Linked DNA regions of Homo sapiens: all the other regions are linked to region 3. Evidence: promoter capture Hi-C in 16 types of primary human blood cells and fetal thymus (Javierre and others, 2016). All regions are on one chromosome and are shown on one strand. The core of a region is centred on a gene start or on the middle of the fragment in contact, and the rest is flanking DNA. Distances in the headings are between cores, read along the strand shown. Region 1 overlaps DNAJC17 (DnaJ heat shock protein family (Hsp40) member C17). Region 2 overlaps DNAJC17 (DnaJ heat shock protein family (Hsp40) member C17). Region 3 holds the start of CHST14 (carbohydrate sulfotransferase 14).

Region 1 (3,449 bases), core at 462-2,961, 320 kb before region 3:
TCCGTCTCAAAAAATAAATAAATAAATAAATTTAATAAAGAGAGTAACCGTTTTTATTTTTGTTTTTTGTTTTTTTAAAGATGGTCTCGCTTTGCCCCAGCCAAAGTACAGTGGTGCAATCATAGCTCACTGCAGCCTTGACTTCCTGGGCTCAGGTGATCCTCCCACCTCAGCCTCCTGAGTAGCTCGGCTTACAGGTGTGCACCACCATGCCAGGGTAATTTTTGTATTTTTTGTAGAGATGGGGTCTCACCATGTTGCCCAGACTGGTCTTGAACTCCTGGGCTCAAGTGATCCTCTGGCCTTGGCCTCCCAAAGTGCTGGGATTACAGGCATGAGCCACTGTGCCCAGCCGAAAGTAACAGGTTTTGTTCTTGTTTTTGTTTTTTTTTCTGAGATGGAGTCTCATTCTATCCCCCAGGCTGGAGTGCAGTGGCACAATCTCAGCTCACTGCAACCTCTGCCTCCTGGGTTCAAGCAGATCTCCTGCTTCAGCCTCCTGAGTAGCTAGGATTATAGGCATGCACCACCATGCCTGGCTAATTTTTGTATTTTTAGTAGAGATGGGATTTCACCATATTGGTCAGGCTGGTCTCAAACTCCTCACCTTGTGATCCGCCCGCCTCGGCCTCCCAAAGTGCTGGGATTGAAAGTAACAGTTTTTATAACTATCTTTAATGTGTAAGGCTAAGAATTGTTGCTTGTTGCATCTACCATGTGTTGAGAATAGATGGAAATCATGATACAGATGTTAGAATTGTAAATGTGCCTTCATAATCACCTTTGTACTTATTAGCAGTTATAGTTAAGAAAGTGGACTTTGGAGTCAGATTGCCTGGATACTTGCCCCATGACCTAGTTTGTGACCTGGAGCAAATATTTAACCGCTCTGTACCTTGGTTTCCTCGTCTGCAAAACGAGGATGATGATAGTCTGTCCTTGATCGCATTGTTTTGAGGCTTGATCCACGTAAGCATTTGGCACAGTGCCTGGCATAGAGTGAGCGCTCACTATGAGTCAGTTCTTGCTGTTTTCATTGTGAGTCCATCTTCCTTACACTGTAAGCTTGGAAAGTCAAATATGAATCGCCCCCAGCTTGTGTCCAAGGCTGCCCTCCACCTGGACCCCTTCTTTACTCACTCCATTCCTGACACATTAGTGCTGAGTCACCTAACAGCAAATCAGTGATTCTCAATTGAGGCAGTGGTCAGGGTAGGAAGGCGGTGGAGGATCAAGTAGAACAAAATTGAGGATCACCAGAGTTCAACATTTAGTTCACATCAACAAATGAATGGAGTTTCTCACCATGGACAAGGTACTGTTTGAGCATGGTAGGACTTAGAGCTGAGTAAGATACCACTTCTGACTTCTGACAGCTCACACAGTTATATACTCAGTGAACGCTGAGGTGCAATGAATGAGGTTCAGTAAGAGTATATAAGAAAATGCTGTAAGAATAAAGAGGAAGACATGATTTATATGACTGGTGTTTTTATGCAAGATCTTGAAGGGAGAAAAGAATATATTGCAGCAGTTAGAAGGGATCTTCATGGGCTGGGCACGGTGCTCACGCCTGTAATCCCAGCACTTTGGGAGGCCGAGGCGGGCAGATCACGAGGTCAGGAGATCGAGACCATCCTGGCTAACATGGTGAAACCCCGTCTCTACTAAAAATACAAAAAAATTAGCCAGGCGTGGTGGCGGGTGCCTGTAGTCCCAGCTACTCGGGAGGCTGAGGCAAGAGAATGGCGTGAACCCGGAGGCAGAGCTTGCAGTGAGCTGAGATCGTGCCATGCACTCCAGCCTGGGTGACAAGTGAGACCATCTCAAAAAAAAAAAAAAAAAAAAGAAGGGATCTTCATGGTCATTTACTGTCTTATTTTGTAGACTGGAGAATGGAGGTTCAGAGAGGTTACAAAATTTTCCACGACCATCCAGCGAGTGAGCATCAGCCTGAGACTAGAGCTCCAATCAAGATCCTTTCCACTTTTGTGCAGCCCACATGTGTATTTCTGGGGGTCTCACTCTGTCCTCCAGGCTGGGACCACAGGAGTGCACCACCACGCCTGGATAATTTTTAGAAAAATATTTTGTGGAGATGGGGTCTCCCTATGTTGCCCAGGCTGGTCTCGAACTCCTGGGCTCAAGCAGTCCTCCTGCCTCGGCCTCCCAAAGTGCCAGGATTACAGGCATGAGTCAGCATGTCCAGCCTGTCTTTCTCTTCTGTCTGTAGCAGCCTTACCTTTCATTTGAAGCCCTTTGAAGGGTGTGTAGCTCATTCATCTTGGCAGGTAATTACCTGGGGAAGCCAGATGTTTGAAAATGCATTTTGATTGTTTTTCAAGACTCAAAGCTTAAGTCTATTTATCAGGAAAACTACCAGGGAAACTTAATATTGACATTTTCTGGGAGGGAGGTTATATTATAGCATATAAATTACTGCAAGGAAAAGGCTATTTTATCTTTAAGCTAGCTATTATCTTGGTACCACTAGCTACATATTTCTTTTATACCCTAGAAGGTGGTGCATCAACATTGTTTCTTAAAAATTTAAGAAGACTTGGTTTTTGAGGACAGAGGACAGACAAGGGCTTGAAGGAGCAACCGGGGCATGCAGATGTGGAGTGCCTAGCATGACAGGGAATGGGCATGGCCTAGGGTTTGCTGAGGAGGTCGCAGGAGATGAATCTGAGAAATGTGTGTTTGGGCCTCTAGGCCCTAGGGTGGTTACACTTGATTCTGTGAGCATCTGGGGGCCATTTCTGGATCTGAAGTGTGCCTGATGTAATCTGCTGTCTCCAAAGGGGGCTTTTCCCAGAACCTCTTATATCTAGACCAGGTGCTGAGGCCTTGAGGTTGGGTACTGAGCCTGTTTGTTTTGTTTTGTTTTGTTTTTTTCAGATGGAGTTTCGCTCTTGTTGCCCAGGCTGGAGTGCAATGGCGTGATCTTGGCTCACTGCAACCTCCGCCTCCTGAGTTCAAGCGATTCTCCTGCCTCAGCCTCCCCAGTAGCTGGGATTACAGGCGCGTGCCACCACACCCAGCTAATTTTTGTATTTTTAGTAGAGACAGGATTTCACCATGTTGGCCAGGCTAGTGTCGAACTCCTGACCTCAGGTGATCCGCCCACCTCAGCCTCCCAAAGTGCTGGGATTACAGGTGTGAGCCACTGCGACCAGCTGCCTGTTGTTTTTTATTTTATTTTATTTTAGTTTTTTGAGATGGAGTCACTCTGTCACCCTGGCTGGTGTGCAGTGGTGCGATCTTGGCTCACTGCAACCTCCCCCTCCCAGGTTCAAGCAATTCTTCTCCCTCAGCCTCCCGAGTAGCTGGGTCTACAGGCACACGCCACCATACCCAGTTAATTTTTGTATTTTTAGTAGAGATGGGGTTTCACCATGTTGGCCAGGCTGGTCTCAAAACTTCTCACCTCAGGTGATCGCCTGCCT
Region 2 (3,849 bases), core at 1,014-3,513, 300 kb before region 3:
CCACACCCGGCTAATTTTTGTATTTTTAGTAGAGACGGAGTTTTGCCACATTGGCCAGGCTGGTCTCGAACTCCTGACCTCAGGTGATCCACCCCTCTTGGCCTCCCAAAGTGCTGGGATTACAGGCGTGAGCCACCGCGCCTGGCCCAGTCCAAGCATTCTTTACTCAAGTTTCTCCTTTTCCTCTTGCTCTTCAACATCCATATATTTTAATATGTGCATATAGCATCCCAATATCTATTTCTATATTAAAAGAAAAGCAAGTGCCAGGAGACCCCATCTCAAAAAAAAAAAAAAAAAAAGAGAGAGAGAGAAAAGGAGAGTCTAAGTAAGTAAAGTGCACAAACTTCTCTGGACTAAGAGAAGGGTTTCTCACAGCAGCTGGCCTGGCACATGGTTGCAAGCAGGTTTCTCTTGGAAGGTAACGCCCTCACACAATCCAGGACCCGGGGTGATGCCCTAACACTCTGCCCATCCCTGTAGCCAGGTCCACAGTGAGGCTTGGTAAATGTGAGTTGAGGTGGGAGGTAAAGGAGACAGTGAGAACCTGAGCTCAGTGTGTGAAAAGAATCAAAGCCAAAGCAAGTCAAGCTGTGGTGCCAAACCACAGGAATCGAGCCCAGCAGCTCCGCCCATTGGCACCCCTGACACATGGCCCTGGGCTGCTGACATAAGCACCACCCACACCCTGTTCACTAGAGAGAACCAGCTTGGTCAGTGTGAGCTGTTTTTAACTCTTCCAGACCCCTGGCCACTCTGCTAGACCCCATACTTCTGTGCTGTGATTTTTCTCAATGGAAATTGACTCGGGGGCGTGGGCATGGAGGGAGGGGGCAGAGTTACTGTATGATCTCGTCGTGATTGAGACTTTGGGGAGGCAGCCAGAGCTGGGGTGGGCCGAGGCCACATGGAAACTGAACAGACCAGCAGTCTGGTCATTCAACCCTTGTGTCTAGACCTGGAGGCCCGGGAGCGGCAGGCCCAGGCCCAGGAGAGTGAGGAGGAAGAGGAGAGCCGGAGCACCAGGACACTAGAGCAAGAGGTGAGCACTCAGGCACACTGGCCAGAAGGCCACCTGCAGGAGGAGGAGGTGGGGGAGGATGGACCTGGTGGTCGCCGTGGCTAGAGAGGGCATGCTCTTTGCACCTTCAGTGGGAGCTGGGTGATTTGTCCCACCCACAGGTTGCTGAGCCCTAGCTTGCAGGTGGAAGCTCCCAAGGACTTTTTACAAGGTGAGCCAGCCTGGAATTGGACCTGCACAGAATTGTCACCCCCACCCCCTGCTCTGCAGATCGAACGCCTGAGAGAAGAGGGTTCCCGGCAGCTGGAGGAACAGCAGAGGCTCATCCGGGAGCAGATACGCCAGGAGCGTGACCAGAGGTTGAGAGGTGCAGGTCTATCACCCCGCCTATCTCCCCTCCAAGGTAGCTCCAGATTGCTCAGAGCGGCCACACTGGCTGTTCGGTGGAGCTGCTGTGGAGGCTTCTACCTGCTGGAACCCTGGGGTCACCCTATGGTACCTTACTCTGACACATGCCACTTATCCCGTCTTCCTCCCAGTTCTCTGGGGCCTATTTGCTTTTTACTCTGCCTGAGATCTCCTGGCCACATTTGGCTTTGTCCCAAGCAGAGGTGGCCTTGTTTTGGGACAGATCACCACGGGGAGGGGCCCTGGGACACTTTGTGCCCGTAGAACCTCATGGTCTGTCTCTCTGCCTCCTGTCCCTAGAAAGTGTTCCTAGCTCTCCATTCAGAGAGTGCTGACAAGTGGCCTTCAGGAGGCAGCTGGGTAGACCACCCCTGGGGTGGCAGCTTCTCTGGGGATGGGCATCTGCTTTCCCCACCAGGCCCTCACCAGAGCTGGGCAGGCATTGCCCTTGGTCAGGAGTGACCCTTTCCAGACCCTTCTTGCTCTGGGCTGCATTTCCTTTGGGAGAATCTCTGACTCCCTCATATTCTACTTTTCTTCTTTTCCCAATATTTCTAGGAAAGGCAGAAAATACTGAAGGCCAAGGAACCCCCAAACTAAAGGTGAGCCTGGGCAGGATCTGTGGGCCACCTCACACTCACACCGCCTCCCCTCAGCAGGAATAGATGCTTCCTGTGGCTCGAGGGTTTCTGGTGGGGCTGCTGGATCTGCGTGGAGCCCGCACCATTACCACCTCCCTCCATGCTCCAGCCGCCCGGAGATCAGAGCTTGCCACGAAAGGCTGCTTTTAGCCCTGATCACAGGGCAGAGGATTCTCTAGAAGCCCTCTCAGGAGAGGGTCTTCTGGGCGGGAAGCGTCCCTGGGGTGAGCAGGCCATCCTGCCTTCAAGTTCCCAAGGGGAAAATGTTTCTGGTGGCACTCCCCAGATTGCAGGAGCCTTGGAGGCTTGGAGGGTGGGAGGATGTCTGCTCAGACTGTCAAGCTCAGTCGTGGGGTGAGGTACTGTTCAGCCAAGAATCAGTGTTTCATGAGGCTCTCTTTTCAGCTAAAATGGAAGTGCAAGAAGGAGGATGAGTCAAAAGGTGGCTACTCCAAAGACGTCCTCCTACGGCTTTTGCAGAAGGTCGGCCCTGTTGACGTCCACTCTTTCCTATCATCTCAGTCCACGTCTCAGTCCACACCCTAGGTCTCTGCTCTCAATGCCTGAACTTCCCTTAACATATCTACTTGCTTTTTTTTTCTGTCTCATAGACCATGGGACGTCTTAGAGACTTCTCCCCAGGCTACAGCCTTGCTTTCACTTGTGTGGCCATGTGCCCCCTTCCAGCCCGCTGTCCTTTGCTACCTCGGTCTAACCCTTACCCTTAGAAGCAAAGAGCTTGGTTGAGTGGGTTGGGAGGGACGAGGTGCGTATCTGGCACGAAAGCCCCGTCCTTTTCACCACGTTCAACTAGCAAGGACGCTATGCAATGAAATGTGTCAGTCTAAGTCACCAGGGCTTTGCTCATCATTCCTTTGCTGCTCTGTGTTCCTAGAAAAAAATTTCTTTCTTTCCTATCTCTGATCTCACTTCACTAAGATAAGTAGGTGGGGCAAGAAGTTATCTCCCAACTGAAAATGCCCCATGGGCCTCAAGGTAGCCCAGGCTTGTCTCTGGCATGACCTGGGCCATCCTGAAGGCCAAGTCATGCTTATTAGGACCCCTTTGTCCCCACAGTATGGTGAGGTTCTCAACCTGGTGCTTTCCAGTAAGAAGCCAGGCACTGCTGTGGTGGAGTTTGCAACCGTCAAGGCAGCGGTGAGTGCTGCATGAGGCTTGGGGGCCCCTCGTGGCCCTGTCATTCTAGGGCAGGGACCCAATTCTGTGGGCCCTCTGAGTTAGGTGGTCTGCACTCCTAGGGAATCTCCAGGCCAGCTTAGAGCCAAGGCTCTTCCCAGGGGCCCCTGACTCCTGGAAATAGAGGCACCGTGTGTGAAGGGATGGATGGGGGGTGCTCTGGGGAGAAAGGAGAGCACAGACTTGACTCTGCTCCCTGCTGGTGCCTTCACACCCTCCACCTGCACCCCTTGGGGCTGTGAGCCCCAGCACTGCCTTCCCACCCTTTGTGCTCCTCGCCTCCCCACATCAGAAAGCTCCCCCAACCCCTCTCCCGCAGGAAAGGCCAAAGCGTTAACACCCATCACTTGAAGGCTGCTGAGGTTGGCATCTCTGCTTAGAGGGCTAGAACGCTGGTTCCGTTCTCTCTGTGGGGGTAGAGAGAGCCTCTTTATAGCTGACTCAACGGATGGGACAGGACTAGATGCTGTGTTTGGCAGGAGCTGGCTGTCCAGAATGAAGTTGGCCTGGTGGATAACCCTCTGAAGATTTCCTGGTTGGAGGGACAGCCCCAGGATGCCGTGGGCCGCAGCCACTCAGGAC
Region 3 (3,843 bases), core at 330-2,829:
TCCCCCCAATGAGGAGCAGCAGGTCTCCTGCCTAGCCCTGTCCTCTGAGTCACTGTGGGTGCCCACCCTGGACAAGGAACTTCTGAGGGCAGTCTCTGCCATCCAGGATCCTGAGAAGCCCCAAGCCCCAGAGCCAGAGTTTCTCCGAATGACAGGCAGAAGCACAGAAAGCTGGCGTTGAAACCAGTCCCCACCAGCTGCTGGCCCCACACCCATGGTCACTGCTGACACGCCTCCTTGGTGACATTAGGCAGTGGGTAGGCAAAGAGGGAGAAGTCCAGGATATACTTAGGCAGCACATCCTGCAGCAGGGCCCGGGGGGCACTGCACAAGTGGTAATGCAGGCTTTCGGGGCTGGCTGGCCGGTACCAGGCCTGGCGAGCTGGAAATCGGACGTGAGGTGGTGCCCGTACCCACTCCAGCACCTGATTTGCATCAGCCTCCAGCCTCTCATAGGAGCCCACAAAGTCATAGTGCACGGCACAAGGCTGGCACAGGTGGTACACGGGCATCCAATGCTCATTCATGCGCTCAGGGTCCTCATCCACCAGGTATCTCAGGAACTCGGGGAATGTGACATCGTCGCCTGCAGGGCTGGGCCCCGCTCCAGCCCTGTACCGCCTCACTATCTCAGCCCCATAGCGTTGCTGGTACTCTCGGATCTCGCCAAACTTGTTGCGGTAGGCAGAGAGGAGGCGTTCCAAGGGCTCCCGCACAAACAGGAACTTAAAGTAGTGCTGCAGGCGGTAGCGAATCTCCTCAGGCCGCAGGTCGGCCAGGAACACCAGGTCACTGCGGTGGTCCATCTTGAGGCGGACGTCCACGCTGTCCAGGACGCCTGCCAGCACCTTCATCACCCGCTTCCAGTTAGAGCAGGCCACCTTGGGGACGTAGCAGTAGAGGAAGCGGTAACGGTCACTTACGAGGATGTGGCGCAGCAGGGTGCGCCGCTGCCCCACCGGCAAGTCCCAGGGGTCCCGGGGCATGCCTGGCTGTCCGCACACCGCCCGCAGGGTCCTGTTCCGGACGTCCTGCCGCACTTGCAAGTCCGCGTCCCCAGCCCTGAGGGACAGGCCCCCAGGCTTGGGGGCTTTCCCGCGCCAGGCTGTGCCCTCGCGGCCGGGCGGGTGCAGGGGCAGGGGCTTCATCTCGGCCAGGATGCCCCGCTCGATCATGAGCAGCAGCCCGCTGGAGGCCACGATCACCGCAAACATCAGCATGGACGGCAGCAGCAGGGGCGGCCCACCCAGCCCCGCCCGGGCCCTGCCCAGAGGGGCCCGCCTCAGCGCCCGGCCCAGGGGCTCGGCGCCATTTGGGGCCGCCAGCGGGGTCAGCGGGCGGGGGAACATGGTGCTCAAGGGGTGGGGGCCTGCGCGGGCCCGGCCGATCCGAGGGCGGCCTGGAAGGCGGGCTCGGGCTGGGGGCGGGAGGAGGGTCTGGGACCGGGGGTAGTTGGGGAGGGGAGGGCAGGGGACAGCCCTGGCGCGTGTAGGGGTGGCCGGCTCCCGGGCTGCGGCGCCGAAGCGGGCGGCGGGCGGCGGGCGCGGCGAGGGACCCGGGCCGGATGTCCCGCCCGGCCGCTCTCCACCCCCGGCCTCGCAGTGACACAGGCGCGGGGGCGGGCCCACGCCGGGGGCGGGGAGAGGGGCGGGCGCCCCTGCGGGGCGCGGGCTTGGGAGGGCGCACGCGGACCCCTACCCGGAAGAGGGCGCCTGAGTCAGGGCCACCCCTGTCCTCTGGGCTTGGGGACAAAAGCTCCTGAGACCTCGAAGGCAGAAAAGACTCGAGGCTGCTCTCCTGCAGCGTGTGTCCTCAGGGAAGTGGACAAGGGGGATTCGCCACAAACTCAGGCCTGTCCTAGCCCTTCCTCCAGCAACGGGTCTGGAGGCAGGGAGGCGGGCAGCGCTCTCTCCGAGTCCAGACGTGCCGGAGGCTGGTCTTTCCAGCTGGAAGCGGAGCCCTCGGTGTGCTCCCCCTTGCCACCCTTAACTCCCTCCGTCCTGCAGGTCGTGGCCACTCCAGGAAGGAGAAGCAGAACTGTCAGACACTGACCAGTCTCCATGGTGACCCTTGTGTTTAGCAATACCTGGGGACTGACTACAGTGCTTGTCCACTGGGTAATGCTGAAATGTCTGGAAATGGAGTCTCCCCTCCTCTGCCTTCTCCTCATGAGGCAGTGGGATAACTGGGCACTCTGGGGAGGGTCTGACACATTGGTCCATCAGCTGCTGGTGTGGCCAACACACATTTGGAAGGGTGAGGAGCTGGGGGCACAAAACAGCAGGGAAACAGCACGTAGTCTCCTTGCCTGGAGCTAGATGTGTGCTCCATGGCACCAGGCTGGTCACTTGGGCGGACAGCAGACCCGAAGTGCTTTGGATGTCAGCAACCACCATTTCCCACTGGGAACCTGGCTCAGTAGCCAGACTTGGTCCAGCTATGTGCTTGCTGCCTGCAGAGAGCCAGCAAGCCTCTGAAGCAGCAGAGGAATATGATTAGAGCCCAAGTGTACTGAGGACAGCGCCCACTAAGTGTTTTATATTCATTATCTCCTTTAGTTGTTACAGCCACCCTGGCAGGGAGCTAGTGTGGACATTCCCTTTGTACAGCTGAAGTAACAGAGGCTCAGGGAAGATGTGACTCAGTATGGGTGGTTCTGAGTCTAAAACCTAAATTTCTAATCACGGCCCTTCAGAGATTAAAGGAGCATATCATGGAATGGCTAGAAGGGAGGAAGCAGCTGACTCGAGGGCGGACTGTACAGAGCAGGTGATGGAAAATAGAAGATACCAGTGGGAGAATGGAGCTACCAGTGATCAGATGAATTCAGAAGGGTGAGGGGACTTGAGGGATGAGGTGATACTAGAGGGCTCACTGATGACCCCACAATCCCAGCAACAGGAAAAGCACACAGATGAGCCAGGGGAAGGAACGGTAAAGCCTTGCAGCCTTCCAGCTCTCCAGGGCAGGCTCTCCACATCTGATTGCCCCAGTGCATCTGCAGGCTACCACCTGTCCATTTGCTGCACCAGAAGTTTGCGTGAAGGTTCTGCCTTGTCTACACTGCTCCTTGCTTCCAATAATCCTAAAGGTATACATTTCTGGTGATAGGATTTTCTATTAAAATCATATTTTCCAGTAAGTATGTCCTTTAAACCAGGAGAGGAAAAAAAGGCCTTAGACCTTTAAAAATCTTTTGATAATGTGGCCACATGTGCTCCCTTCTGTGTTACAGGGTAGTTTTCTGTGTTAGCAGTCAGGGTGAGGCAGGGGGAGTCCTTGGGCCTGGTACTTATCTCCATACCAATTTCTTGTCTGTAAGATAAGGACAAGCTACCACTCGCCTCAAGGGAGTCTTGTGGACACCACACTGAAGGCAGAGCTAGAAAAATCCATGGTGGTGTCTGTGCCACCAATAAATTCTGAAAAAATGTTCCTGCCCACATGCACCATGCCTTAGCAAAATGCAGAAGTGGAGGCGGGGCGGGGGGGTGCTGTGGCTCCCAGGAACCTCTATGGCCTTAGAGCTGCCCCACCTGGAACATGGTCAACACTGAGGCTTCCAGGCTGGGACCAGGGCTGGGCTGAAGCAGGGGTCAGCTGGCCGCAGACCCTTGGCCCCATGATGTGGCCTTCCTCAGCAAGCAAGAAGCACCAGCTGCAAGACACTGAGGCCCTAGGACAGTGCTGGCCAGTTACCCAAGGTGATGAGGAGGGATGCTTTTTTTTTCTTTTCTGAGACAGGATCTCACTCTGTCACCCAGGCTGCAGTGGTATGATCACGGCTCACTGCAGCCTCGTGCTCTTGGGATCAAGCAATCCTCCTACCTTAGCCTCCTGACT

The links. The method cuts DNA at HindIII sites, captures the fragments that hold promoters and counts their contacts. A CHiCAGO score of 5 or more calls a contact.
Region 1: a fragment that was not itself captured here is called in contact with the fragment with the promoter of CHST14 in region 3 in 1 of 17 cell types (naive B cells); the score reaches 5.7 in naive B cells.
Region 2: a contact is called between a fragment that was not itself captured here and the fragment with the promoter of CHST14 in region 3, in 2 of 17 cell types (naive B cells and total B cells). The highest score is 7.4, in naive B cells.

The regions. Positions count from the first base shown.
Region 1 is chr15:40,791,295-40,794,743 of GRCh38, reverse strand. All of the region lies in intron 1 of DNAJC17 (DnaJ heat shock protein family (Hsp40) member C17), which reads left to right. Among named protein-coding and RNA genes, the nearest start is that of ZFYVE19, 14 kb to the left of the region's middle. RefSeq lists a silencer at 859-1,153 and an enhancer at 1,230-2,429. The HindIII fragment of the contact is 1,288 bases long and covers 1,068-2,355 here.
Region 2 is chr15:40,773,735-40,777,583 of GRCh38, reverse strand. DNAJC17 (DnaJ heat shock protein family (Hsp40) member C17) reads left to right here. Exons shown (of 11, transcript NM_018163.3): 5 at 957-1,042; 6 at 1,292-1,388; 7 at 1,988-2,031; 8 at 2,476-2,553; 9 at 3,148-3,228; 10 at 3,747-3,849. Among named protein-coding and RNA genes, the nearest start is that of C15orf62, 5.7 kb to the right of the region's middle. The HindIII fragment of the contact is 7,655 bases long and covers 1-3,849 here.
Region 3 is chr15:40,468,720-40,472,562 of GRCh38, reverse strand. It overlaps CHST14 (carbohydrate sulfotransferase 14), which reads right to left and starts at 1,579. Exons shown (of 1, transcript NM_130468.4): 1 at 1-1,579. The coding sequence starts at 1,349. The coding sequence ends at 219. RefSeq lists enhancers at 1-715, 1,998-2,107 and silencers at 1,168-1,417, 1,468-1,707. The HindIII fragment of the contact is 28,829 bases long and covers 1-3,843 here.